2 separate regions of the Homo sapiens genome follow, and region 1 is linked to region 2. The links are contacts of gene promoters, found by promoter capture Hi-C in human tissues and cell types (Jung and others, 2019). All regions are on one chromosome and are shown on one strand. The core of a region is centred on a gene start or on the middle of the fragment in contact, and the rest is flanking DNA. Distances in the headings are between cores, read along the strand shown.

The links. The method cuts DNA at HindIII sites, captures the fragments that hold promoters and counts their contacts. A contact is called where the count stands out against the background at its distance.
Region 1: a contact is called between a fragment that was not itself captured here and the fragment with the promoter of GPRC5A in region 2, in 1 of the 25 tissues and cell types used here (aorta).

What each region holds. Positions count from the first base shown.
Region 1 is chr12:12,921,284-12,927,763 of GRCh38, forward strand. GPRC5D-AS1 (GPRC5D and HEBP1 antisense RNA 1) reads left to right here and starts at 6,443. Exons shown (of 3, transcript NR_149067.1): 1 at 6,443-6,480. RefSeq lists cis regulatory regions at 905-992, 985 and an enhancer at 913-1,057. The HindIII fragment of the contact is 5,285 bases long and covers 1,688-6,480 here.
Region 2 is chr12:12,889,780-12,896,299 of GRCh38, forward strand. It overlaps GPRC5A (G protein-coupled receptor class C group 5 member A), which reads left to right and starts at 1,783. Exons shown (of 4, transcript NM_003979.4): 1 at 1,783-1,885. The HindIII fragment of the contact is 16,829 bases long and covers 1-6,520 here.

The sequences.
Region 1 (6,480 bases), core at 3,080-5,579, 34 kb after region 2:
CTTATCCATAACTCCCTGCTGCCTCCCAACCGTCTTTAATAACGATTGCCTAACAGGTGGCTCTGTGGTTAGAAATTTTAGGCAAGCAGATTCCAGAAGAGCTTCCTGCAAAATAGCGGGTCCTCTCTTGGCTGGTGATGTTTAAGCTCAATGAACTAATCAGTTCAATGCTATTCAAATAGCATGCGCTCCATTCCTAAGGCAACTTGCATTCTAAAGCAAAGTTATGAAGCAGAGAATTGTCTTGTAACACACAACTACCAATGACATCCAATAATAACACTTATTAAAAGGTGAGGACACATCCTCCAGCTCTGCTGGGGACAATGTGGGGAATTCTGTCTGGAGCAAGGCCTTCGATAAGCTTGAGGCAGCTTGTAACTCTTAGCGTTTAGACTTTCACTGGCTGAGTTGTTATTCTTCATATTTGAATCTAAGAGCCATGGAGAGTTCTTAGATTGTTAGTTTTCCTGGACAGTTTTCTTTCCCTATACCTCCAACCCAAACACTTCCTTTGCCCTTCAGGTGAAAATGGAAATGCTCTTCACTCTTGGGATGGGCCCTCACCTTTTAGTAAGTGTTATGGTTGGGTGTCGATTAAAATTAAGGGGGCTGTGTGTTGCAGGACTACTCCCTTGTTCAGAGCCTTGCTTTAGAATGGGAGCTGCCACGGGAACAGAGCTCATGCTATGTTAATATGACTTTATTGCGGACACGGTGATGATCTAAAATCCTTTGCAAAGGCACTTGAATTTTGTAAACACCACTGTGTTCTCCCACTCCAGATACATGTAGTCAATGTCTGAACTATTGCTTGATTTCGTTCTTTAGACAAAAACTACTGTCTTTTTAAGAAAAAAAAAAAAAAAAAAAAAAAAAAACAAAAAAACAAAAAACTACTCCACGTTGTCTTTGAGGGTGATTAATTGCATAAGAAAGAACCCCATGATTCGTGTTACTCAGCAGAATCAAAAAGGCTTGTGCATTGTACTTGGGTAGCATGAGTTTAGTCATCTGAATCACAAACCCATGACCTCTGGATACTTGGGAGCCAGAATGAGGGCCCAAGGGAGCATCTGACTGTACTGAATTAGAGGGAGGCAGAGGAAGGGGTGGGGTGCCAGGGCTTCCTTGGGAAGAAAGCGTCAGAGTGAGGGTGAGGGGATGGGGAGTGAGAGCCGATAAGTAGGAGGAAGAGTTGTAAAATCAGAGGCCTGGCAAAGTAATGAAGATAAAAGAATGTTACACTAAAGTTAAAATTAAGGACTTAAGAATCAGGAATTTGGCCGGGTGCAGTGGCTCGTACCTGTAATGCCAGCACTGTGGGAGGCCGAGGCGGGCAGATCACGAGGTCAGGAGTTCGAGACCAACCTGACCAACATGGTGAAACCTTGTCTCTATTAAAAATACAAAAAATTAGCCAGGCGTGGTGGCATGCGCCTGGAATCCCAGCTACTCAGGAGGCTCAGGCAGGAGAATCACTTGAACCAGGGAGGTGGAGGTTGCAGTGAGCTGAGATCATGCCATTGCACTCCATCCAGCCTGGGTGACAGAGCAAGACTCCATCTCAAAAAAAAAAAAAAAAAAAAAAGAGAATCAGGAATTCAGGAAAATATTGTTACAATTCCCAAAGGGTCAGACCTGTGTGTGAAATTGGGCAGATGGGTTTGACCTCATCATAGAACGTCATTCCAGTTTTTCCTCTACGTTTCTAGAACGCCCTGGCTTCATGAAAGACGGGGGACAAGGTGAGGAGGAGCAGCCTGCTAAATGCACAGAACCCGGCATGCTCAGAGATGGTTCTTTTGATTATGTTGGCCGTCCCCTCCCCGCCCCCAAGGCCCTGGCCAAGTCCTCTGTCCTTTCCTTTCTCTGACAAACCTGGCGGCAGTGCCAGAAACAATGAATTGATGAATTGGTACCTGTATATTTTTCCCAGATCATCAGGGCTACAGTCTGCATGCATGGGTGTTGCATTTAACTTTAAAAGAAAACTAGAGTTTAGAAAGAAAAATGGCTGTTTATATATTCTGCATAATGGAGAGGTTTCCTTCCTTCCTTCCTTCCCTCCTTCCCTCCCTCCCTCCTTCCTTCCTTCCCTCCCTCCCTCCCTCCTTCTTTTCTTCTCTTTTCTTTTCTTTCTTGACGGAGTCTCGCTTTGTTGCCCAGGCTGGAGTGCAGTGGCGCGATCTGGGCTCACTGCAAGCTCCGCCTCCTGGGTTCACACCATTCTCCCGCCTCAGCCTCCCAAGTAGCTGGGACTACAGGCGCCTGCCACCACGCCCGGCTAACTTTTGGTACTTTTAGTACAGATGGGGTTTCACCGCATTAGCGAGCTTGGTCCCAATCTCCTGACCTTGTGATCCGCCCGCCTCGGCCTCCCAAAGTGCTGGGATTACAGGCATGAGCCACCGTGCCCGGCCTCTCTTCTCTTTCCTTTTCTTTCTCTCTTTCTCTCTTTCTTTCTCTCTTTCTCTCTTTCTTTCTCTCTCTTTCTCTCTTTCTCTTTCTTTCTTTTCTTTTCTTTCCTTCCTTCCTTCCTTCCTTCCTTCCTTCCTTCCTTCCTTTTCTTTCTTCCCTCCCTCCTTCCTTCCTTCCTTCCTTCCTTCCTTTCCTTCCTTCCTTCCTTCCTTCCTTCCTTCCTTCCTTCCTTCCTTCCTTCTTTCTTTTTCTTTCTTTCTTTCTTTCTTTCTTTCTTTCTTTCTTTCTTTCTTTCTTTCTTTCTTTCTTTCTTTCTTTCTTTCTTCTTTTTCTTTCTTTTCTTTCTTGTCTTGCCCTGTCACCCAGGCTGGGCAATCTACCTGCCCTAGGCTTCTGAGTAACTTGGACTACAGGTGTGCACCATCACACCTAGCTTTTTTTGATTTTTTATAGAGATGGCGGGGGTGGGGGGGCTCTCTCTATGTTGCCCAGGCTGGTCTTGAACTCCCAAGCTCAAGCAGTCCTTCTGCCTTGGCCTCCCAAAGTGCTGAGATTACAGGTGTCAGTCACCATGGCTGGCTGTGGAGAAGCTTTCATGCTCCCCAGACATCTTCTTCAGTAGTCTGTGAGAATCTCAGAAATTCCTGGTATGTGTGGGGTACCGGCTGGTGGCTGTGTGTACAGACACACCCACACATCCACCCACATCCATGTCCACTCCTGTATACACCAATTGGCCGTAAGCCTAAGGTATGGAGAGTCATTTCTACACGTGAGATGAAACCAGTGCCCTTGCCTCCTATCACCGTATGTGTATGTGCACACTGTCATGCCAAATAAAACACATTTCCATTCAAGGCAGTAGCAAAACAGGGTTGCCGATTGTGTGGCTGAAAAGCAGTGCATGTCACCAACTGTCCCTAACTCACGGTGAGTGATCCATCCCTGTGACCTTGATTTTCACGATCTTTCATTTTTATTTACCTTTTATCTTTTGTAGAGATGGGTTCTCACTATGTTGCCCAGGCTGATCTTGAACTCCTGGGATCGAGCAGTCATCCCTCCTCGGCCTCCCAAGTAGCTGGGACTACAAGCTGGCCCAGATATAAGCAGGCAGTTTTTAATTTTTTTTATTATTATTTTTTGAAACGAACTCTCTATTGCCCAGGCTGGAGTGCAGTGGCGCGATCTCAGCTCACTGCAACCTCCACCTCCCAGGTTCAAGAGATTCTCTTGCCTCAGCCTCCCGAGTAGCTGGGATTACAGCTACTTGGCTGTACACCATGCCCGGCTAATTTTGTATTTTTAGTAGAGACGGGGTTTCACTATGTTGGCCAGGCTGATCTCCAACTCTTGATCTGCTCACTTCAGCCTCCCAAAGTGCTGGGATTACAGGCGTGAGCCACCGTGCCCGGCTAGAGCAGGCAGTTTAATGCTGGGCTCCCATAGTGGTAAGTCTTCAGGGTACTGAAATTTCGAATTTAGATTTATTTGTTGGTTTGTGTGTTTTTCTCTATTATATAGGCTTTAGAAGGACAGAAATTTGTTCTGTTTTTCTCAGTATTCCCTGAGCCTAGGACAGTGCCTGTACACATGGGTAAAATGAATAAACTTTTTGGGAGAAGGGTATTTTTTTTTCTTTTGTCACAGGCTAATTAGAATGATGTCCTTTCACTCAGAGAACACAGCCCTCAGGTTCTTCTCTTGTCTATTCTGGTGTCTTGAATGCCAATTTGTCTTCAAATAATTTTGATGAATTTCAGCTGATCAACCATCAGATTTTTGTGTGTGTTTCCATATAAGAACACTTAAATCCAGTGTGATAAAAGCAACTTACAAGCCCGAGGCTTGGAAGAAAGGAAAGGAATTTTTTACTTCTTGGGCTGAATACATTTCATCACATCCCAATTTATTTCCCTGAGGCTTTTCTTTGTCAAGCTTGGGAAAGTGCTGTTTCCTAGGAGAACCACACAAGAACAAACTTTAAATATGAGAAAAGAGAAAAGCACACCCCAAAGCAAAACAAAACAAAAAAAACCCCCAAAAACAATAAGAGAAGCATTTTAGATGGATTTTCTCCAAAGATCGATTGCATTGTGTTCCAAACGCATTTCTTTTCTTTCTTTTTTAAATTTTTTTTGAGATGAAGTTTCACTCTGTTACGCAGGCTGAGGTGCAGTGGCATGATCTTGGCTGACTGCAACCTCCACCTCCTGGGTTCAAGTGATTCTCCCGCCTCAGCTTTTCAAGTAGCTTCAGGTGCCCACCACCATGCCTGGCTAATTTTGTATTTTTAGTAGAGATGGGGTTTCACCACGTTGGCTAGGCTGGTCTCAAACTCCTGACCTCAAGTGATCCACCCGCCTCAGCCTCCCAAAGTGCTGGGATTACAGGCGTGAGTCACTGTGCCCAGTGTAAAGTGCATTTCTTTTCTAAACTGACTTGAACCAAAATGGATGAACAAGGACCCTTCAGATGATATACACCAAACTGGAAACAGATGAGAATGCCAGCAAATGGGCTCAGGAGGAATTTATCTTCTTGAATTTTCAGGCATAAGCTGATTTTGACAATGTTTTCTCTTACAAAAACAGGGTGAGCGTGTTCTGGATGGAGGCTGGGTGGGAACCCCAGGTCAGAGCAGATGTGGAACTGGGGCATGGGGAAGACTATACCCCAAAGAGGTGGGGGTGGGGAAGAAGATGAAAAGTGAAAGACGAATGTTCCCAGGGGCAGGAATTCATAAACTTTTTCCATTGATTCTGCCCTCTCAAGCCAATCACTTTCTGCCTTTTTGGACCAAATTGGGAAAGCCTGGACAGTCTGCTACAAACCAGACCAGAGCCTTTCCTTGTCAACAGAGCAGCGCTTCCTAAACTTATACTGCGTTAAAAATCACATGGGAATTTGTTAAAAATGCAGTGTCTGGAGGCCTCCTAGAGGTTCTGATTTAGTTGGTCTGAGTCAGGGTCCAAGAATTTGTATCCAGAGCAAGTATCCCGGCGATTCTTCTGCTTGGACAGGGTTGGGACAAGGCGTCGGCCAGTCATCCACATTGTCTTTTTGCAGATCCACTAATCTTCCATGCAGGCTCCAACAGCTCCTTCCCGGCCTGGGAACCCAAATCCGCAGGAAGAATCTCGGGGTGTTGTCTTGGCTTATTCATTCAGAGCTGTCGTGTGTGGTTCTGCAAACAGTACTCAGATGCGTTCCCTCTCCCCGTAGGGATCTTGCTGGAGATGCCCAGGGTTAACAGTGGAACTCCATATGGAGACAGAGGCATGGGGGGAGCTTCGCTGGAGATGGGACAGCCTGCTCCACCGCGAAGCCTACTGAGGCTCTCTTCTTACGTACCCCGCGCAATCTCATCTCCCTGAACAACTTCCACCTCCACCTTTCAGCTCATTCCCTAATGTCTGCTTCTGTTGGAACTCCACAATCTCATCTTTATCTGCCTAGGTGTGTTACAGTAGGTAGCTGTCAGGTATGAGCAGGGCAGGAGAGGGTCTGTTCCAATAGCAGGAACCTCAGGTGACCATCAGGTGATGGTCAGGCGGCTGTTAGTCTGTCGCTCTAAAATAATAATTGGTCGCAGCCGGTGCTAGGGAAAGACAGGCTCCCAGTAGATAGAAAACACCTGAAACGGGTGATAAGCAGCTTCCCGGTAAGATCTTAGCAGTTGGGCGAGTGTACTCAAGCATGAGCACTAACAGGCAGAATGCCAGAGTTTAACTGGTATATGACCTTCTAGGGACATTCGACTGATAAGGGAAGAACGCCTCACGTGAGCATGTGTACAACTCCTGCATGCGTACAAACACACTGCGCATGCTCCCCTCCCAGGCGCTGGCAGGCCACACACTGCGCATGCTCCCCTCCCAGGTGCCGGCAGGCCACACACTGCGCATGCTCCCCTCCCAGGTGCTGGCAGGCCACACACTGCGCATGCTCCCCTCCCAGGTGCTGGCAGGCCACACACTGCGCATGCTCCCCTCCCAGGTGCTGGCAGGCCACTGCGCAAGTGTGGACAGCCTACACCAAGGGAAGAGTCAGGGGAGA
Region 2 (6,520 bases), core at 533-3,032:
AATAATAAAAAGAATTACTTGGGAGGCTGAGGCGGGAAGACTGCTTGAGCCTGGGAGGTAAAGGCTTACAGTGAGCCATGATGGTATCACTGCACCCCAGCCTGGGTGACAAAGTGAGAGTGTCTCAAACAAGAAACAAACAAAAAAATTAGCCAGGTGTGGTAATGCACACATGTGGTCCTGGGTGCTTGGGAGGCTGAGGTGGAAGGATAGCTTGAGCCTGGGTGATTGAGGCTGCAGTGAGCCGATTGTGCCATTGTACTCCAGCCTGGGTGACGGCGAGACCTTGTCTAAAAAAGAAAAAACACACAAAAAATAAAAAACAAATGTGGCTTATGTTTGTGGCTTGAATTATAGTTCTATTGTACAATGGTAGTCTAGTTCAACTTCTTGAACAGACGAGAACGCTGGGGTCCGGAGAGAAGCCCTGACTTAGCGGATGGCACACACTATAAAGCACTGTCATTTGCAGTCCCACCAGTCTCTCAGTACCCACCCCCACTCTGCCACACACACCCCTGGGAGTCTTAGGTGTGAAATGGGTGGACTCACAGACCCCTGGGCTGCATACCTCAAAGTGTTCCAACACTCAAGGCACTGCCTGTGGTTTTTTGGGAGTGAAATAAAAACCTAACAATGGTGGGGTCACAGTCTCCAGTAGGTCACATTTTAAAAGCACTTTAGGCTCTGGAGACTTGGGGTGTGGGGAGAAGTGAAGAGAAAGCTGGGGAGCCCTGGGCCTTCCCCCATTTCTTCATATGCAGAATAATCCAGATTAGTTTACCAAGCGCGCTGATAACCACTTTAAAAACAGAGTCCCTCCTGCCTCCCCGTGGCATGGGGTAGAACCTGGCTTGAGCCCCGACACAGGCGGGCAGCCACTCCAGGATCGTTCCACACGTAAACAAAGACGAGTTTCGGTCCGATTGGCTTGATCCTGGAAGAGGAGTGGGCAGTGGAGGGAGGGGAAACCAGGCACCAAAGCAAATTCCTTCATTTCATAATTTCATCTGGCGCCCCCGTTCAATCAGCCTGCATTGTCGAGGCTTTAGGAGAGGCAGTTAGGAAAGGAGAGATACTGATCTCTCAGCCCCAGGGCAGCACTAATGGTGCCTGTCTAGACTCTGACAGGTGGAGCTGCTGAGCTAACTACGGACCTGGTGGGGGAAGTTTTCCTTGGCTTTCACGTGGCTTTGGCTGGGGAGCCCTGAGAAGGTGGCTGCCTCCTTTTTCTGAAGCCTGGCTTCCCATACGGCAGTGGCTGGGGGAGAGTGATGGAGAGAAAGGCTAAGCTAAGGTCAAAGAAAGTGGAGGAAGGCTGGCTTGTCCCGCTGGACTTGACGGCGGAGCTGCTGCAATCTCGCGGGCTGGGCCCTTGCCCCGGGTGGACCCGAGTGCCTGCGGGGAGGCGGGTGTGGCTCCCCCGGGAGGTGACAGCTGGCGGGGCCCGTAAGGAGCTGGTCTGCTCCGGCTCCCCTCTCGTAGCCGGCGCCCTGGGACCAGCGCGTGAGCACGTCTCGGAGGAGTCCGATGCGCTGGGCAGGGCCGGGTGGTCACCCCCGCCCAGCTTCCAGGGGTGACTGTGCCTCTGACGTCAGACGGTTTTTGGGTCATTCCCTGGCACGGGGACTTTATTTTCATAACAGCATGAAGTGCCGTGGAACTGGAATAGGCGTGTCCTCTCCCTCGACCCTCCCCCTCCTTGTCCCTCTGCTCACCCCTCGCTCGTTCCCTCCCTCCGGCGAGGGCCGCCTTTATAACAACTGCTCAGAGTGCGAGGGCGGGATAGCTGTCCAAGGTCTCCCCCAGCACTGAGGAGCTCGCCTGCTGCCCTCTTGCGCGCGGGAAGCAGCACCAAGTTCACGGCCAACGCCTTGGCACTAGGGTAAGTGAGGCGCCAGGAGCCCAGAGCGCTGGGGCCTCCGGATTTAAATCGTCTGGGGAGAGCGGGGCGTTGGGAGGGGTGGGATAGAAGAGGAGAGAAATCCTGGTAATGGAATACAGTTGGCTATGAGAAAAAAATTCCCTAGGAAACAGTTCCTCTAGTTTAACAACTCAGATTTTTTTTTTTTTTTTTCCCCTTTGCGGGTTTCCTAGGCTAAGATAGAGGCAGAGAGCAAAGAGATAATCAGGGTAATAGTTTCTGCTCGGACACATTCTACAAACTTTGAGTAGATGGAATCCGGCCAGGCAGGAGGTGAGCAGCTCTGGGATCACTCTGCAGGAAAAGAATAGAGGGAGAAAGATCTCAGAGGACCCGAAGGTACTGGGAGTGGAGGGGGAGTGGGAAACAAGGGGCAGGGGCAGGAGGGAGGACACGGTGACAGCTACTATTTTACCCAGATGCTGCAAAAAGCCCTTCTGAGTTTTGGGAATTAGATCTAGAAGCCCATCCCTTTTCTCTTGATGTGTGGGCGGTCAGTTCCACTCTGGTGTGCCTTGAGTTGCTCAGAAACCTGGGACAGATGAAAGTTGAATGTGCGCTGAGAGTGCACCTTCCACTACCGACTTTATGGATAGGATTTGGGAATAGCATAGATGCTGTTCCATCTGGTCCCTTAAACATCCATGGGGAAGGCTGGCAAATAGCTTTATTTTATTTTTTGAGATGGAGTTTCACTCTTGTTGCCCAGGCTGGAGTACAATGTTGCGATCTCAGCTCACCGCGACCTCCACCTCCCGGGTTCAAGCGATTCTCCTGCCTCAGACTCCCGAGTAGCTGGGATTACAGGCATGCACCACCACTCCTGGTTAATTTTGTATTTTTAGTAGAGACGGGGTTTCCCCATGTTGGTCAGGTTGGTCTCAAACTCCCGACCTAAGGTGATCTGCCCGCCTCAGCCTCCCAAAGTGCTGGGATTACAGGTGTGAGCCCCCGCGCCCGGCCACAGATAGCTTTAAACATCCATGGGAAAGGCTAGCTAACAGCTGAAACCTGCTCAGAATCAAGGAATTTGAAGGACTTTCCATTCCTGACTTCTTTCCATTCCTGATTGTCTCCTCAGAGGCTTGTGTAAACACCACACCTGTTGAAGGGTTCGGCCGAATCAGCCACTGCTGTGGGTTCATTCCTGAAGGGGAACACTTCAGCTACTTCAGACACAATGGGCTAGGGACCACGGGAGGGGTGAGGGCGGAGGGGGCACACACCCTCCAGGTTTGCATGCCGGTGTCTGCTAGGTGAGGGAAGGAATGAGGGGAAGGAAGGGCCGGGAGAGGCGCTACGTGGGAAACAAGGGACCTCTCCAAGGGCGTGGAGAGGTGAGTGCCTCAAGGGCAGAATGGAATGAGCAGAACCCTTTGGTTTCCCGGGAAGAGCTCTCAACCTTGAGTCAGGAAGACTGATTTCTCCTCCCAGCTCCGCAGGAACATGGAACTGTGATCAGGCAAGGGGCTGGGCCTGAGTTCCTCATAGGGGTCTTGGGGAGGCCCCCAGTTTCCCCTCCTGTGTTTCGATTCTGGCCCCTCTCCATCTGCACACGTCGCCTTGGAAGTTCCCTTTAGAACTGGCTTTTTTGTATTCTAGTCTTGAATGGTAATCGAAGACAACAGGGTATGAAGAACAATTTTGACGGCGTGATTTTATTCTTCTCATTCTGGGTCCACTACTATTTAAAGTCCCAAGATTAAGCTGAGGAATTAATATGGTGGTATAGTAAACAATAAATTGAGGAGTATTTTTGCTTGAGGAATCTTTGACTTCCTGAGTAGTTCAGGGTGTTTGCTTCTTTTATTCTCATTTTTATTGCACTGTGGTCAGACTATATGGTCTGCACATTTCTTATTTTCTAATTCCAGATTTGTCTTTGTATTCTAAATATGCTCATTTTTGGCAAATGTTCCATTTGGACCATGGACCATAGTTCCTATTAAGCAATCATAATAGAGTAGAGATGGCAAACTATGGTCCATGGACCAAATATGGCCTATAGCCTCTTTCTGTAAATAAAGTGATTTTTGTTTTGTTTTGTTTTGTTTTTGTTTTCGTTTTTTTGAGATGGAGTCTCGCTCTTGCCCAGGCTGGAGCGCAGTGACGTGATCTCGGCTCACTGAAACCTCTGCCTCCCGGTTTCAAGGTTTCAAGCCATTCTCCTGCCTCAGGCTCCCAAGTAGCTGGGATTACAGGCGCCCGCTACCACGCCTGGGTAATTTTTGTATTTTTAGTAGAGACAGGGTTTCACCATGTTGGCCAGACTGGTCTCAAACTCCTGACCTCAGGTGATCTGCCTGCCTCGGCCTCCCAAAGTGCTGGGATCATAGGCATGAGCCACAACCTGTAATCCACTATTTTACTAAAACACAGCAATGCTCATATGTTTATGTATCATCTATGCTGCTTTCATGCTACAAATGTGTGGCTTGCAGAGTCTTAAATTGCTTATAACCTGGCCCTTTATAGAAAATCTATGCTGATCACTGATATAGAGGATCTGAATTATATGATTAGTAATGGAGATCTAATAAGATATGAAGATAGAGAATATTTCTATTTAAGTATCCATAGAACATTTACACAATTTTACCATGTTCTTATTCATATTGTATATTTTATCTGCCAAGGACTGGTAAAGAAGTATGAAAGTCTCATGCAACTATAGTATTGCCTTTGGGTTCTCCTTGTATTTTCAGCAGTTATTTATTTATTTTGAGACAGGGTCTTGCTCTGTTGCCCTGGCTGGAGTGCAGTGGCACAATCTTGGCTGACTGTAACCTCCACCTCCCAAGCTCAAGTGATCCTCTTGCCTCAGACTCTTGAGTAGCTGGGTCTACAGGCACCCACCACTACACCTGGCTAATTTTTAAATTTTTTGTAGAGATGGGGTTTTGCCATGTAGCCTAGGCTTGACTCAAACTCCTGGGCTCAAGCAATCTTCCTGCCTTCACTTCCCAAAGTGCTGGGATTATAGGTGTAAGCCTCTGTACCCAGCCTTCAGTACTTTTTGTTTTACGTATTTTGGTGCTATATTAGTTGGTGCATAAAAGTCTAGGATGGTTTTTTTTTTTTTTTTTTTTTTTTGAGACAGAGTCTCGCTCTGTCACCCAGGCTGGGGTGCAGTGGTGCGATCACGGCTCACTGCAAGCTCTGCCTCCCGGGTTCACGCCATTCTCCTGCCTCAGCCTCTTGAGTAGCTGGGACTACAGGTGCCCGCCACCATGCCCGGCTAATTTTTTGTATTTTTAGCAGAGACAGGGTTTCACCGTGTTAGCCAGGATGGTCTTGATCTCCTGACCTCGTGATCTGCCCGCCTCAGCCTCCCAAAGTGCTGGGATTACAGGCGTGAGCCACCGTGCCCGGCCCAGGATGGTTTTATCTTCAGTGTAGAGCATCCCTAATTATTATAAAACAAGCCTTTTGGTCAATATAATATCTTTTTGCTTTGATTACAACTTTGTATGATATTAAAACCTTAACTTCTACTTAATTATTTTACCTTGAACAACTTACTTAACTTTGTGTCTGACACATAATACTTGTTAAATAAATATTATGTTAGTATTTCTTTTTATTTTCATTTCTTTCTGTTCTTTTGCTTTTAACTCTTGTGTATCTTTTTGTTTTAGGTTAGGTTCTTCTAGGTATGATATAGTTTAGTCTTTTTTTTTTTCAAAATAGTTACCATTTACATTTCTTGTAATAATAGTTACTTGTTATTGTCATCTAATTTTAGGCTATATGGTTTGGTTGTCTCCATCTCCTTCTGCATTAGACAGTATATATCATATCATATTTTTAGATCTACTAGCAACTGAGTAGATGGTAGTGCCATTCTCAGGGCTTTGAAAGATAGGCTTGTAAGGAGAGGTGATCAGTTTAGCTTTGAACTTGTTGGATCCAGTGAATATTACCCTTATGTATCAGAATAAGATATTTAAATGAAGGGATCTTTGAGAGCCTTAAGATAGTATACTAGTAGAGGGCCGGCGCGGTGGCTCACACCTGTAATCCCAGCACTTTGGGAGGCTGAGGCGGGCAGATCACGAGGTCAGGAGTTCAAGACCATCCTGACTAACACAGTGAAACTCTGTCTCTACTAAAAATACAAAAAAAAAAAAAAAAAAAAAATTAGCCGGGCGTGGTGGTGGGTGCCTGTAGTCCCAGCTACTCGGGAGGCTGAGGCAGGAGAATGGTGTGAACCCAGGAGGTGGAGCTTGCAGTGAGCCGAGATCACGCCACTGCACTCCAGCCTGGGCAACATAGTGAGACTCTGTCTCACAAAAAAAAAAAAAAAAAAAAAGGATAGTATACTAGTAGAGGACTTCACTTTATTTTCCTATTTTCTGGAAATTTCATTTCTTTGAATTCGGGCATAAGAGATTTAGAAGCTTCACTCAAATATTAAGCTTTATTTAAAAAGATGATTTCCAGTATTTCATTTTATATTCACATTAATCAAGTCTACATGTTTCGTTTAGAGTAACAGGAAGATGGTAATACGCCCAGGGAACTATCTGGAAGTGTAGAAATTGGGATGAACACCGTGGTTATACTTGTTTTGATCTGCCTGTGGTGCTATGATGA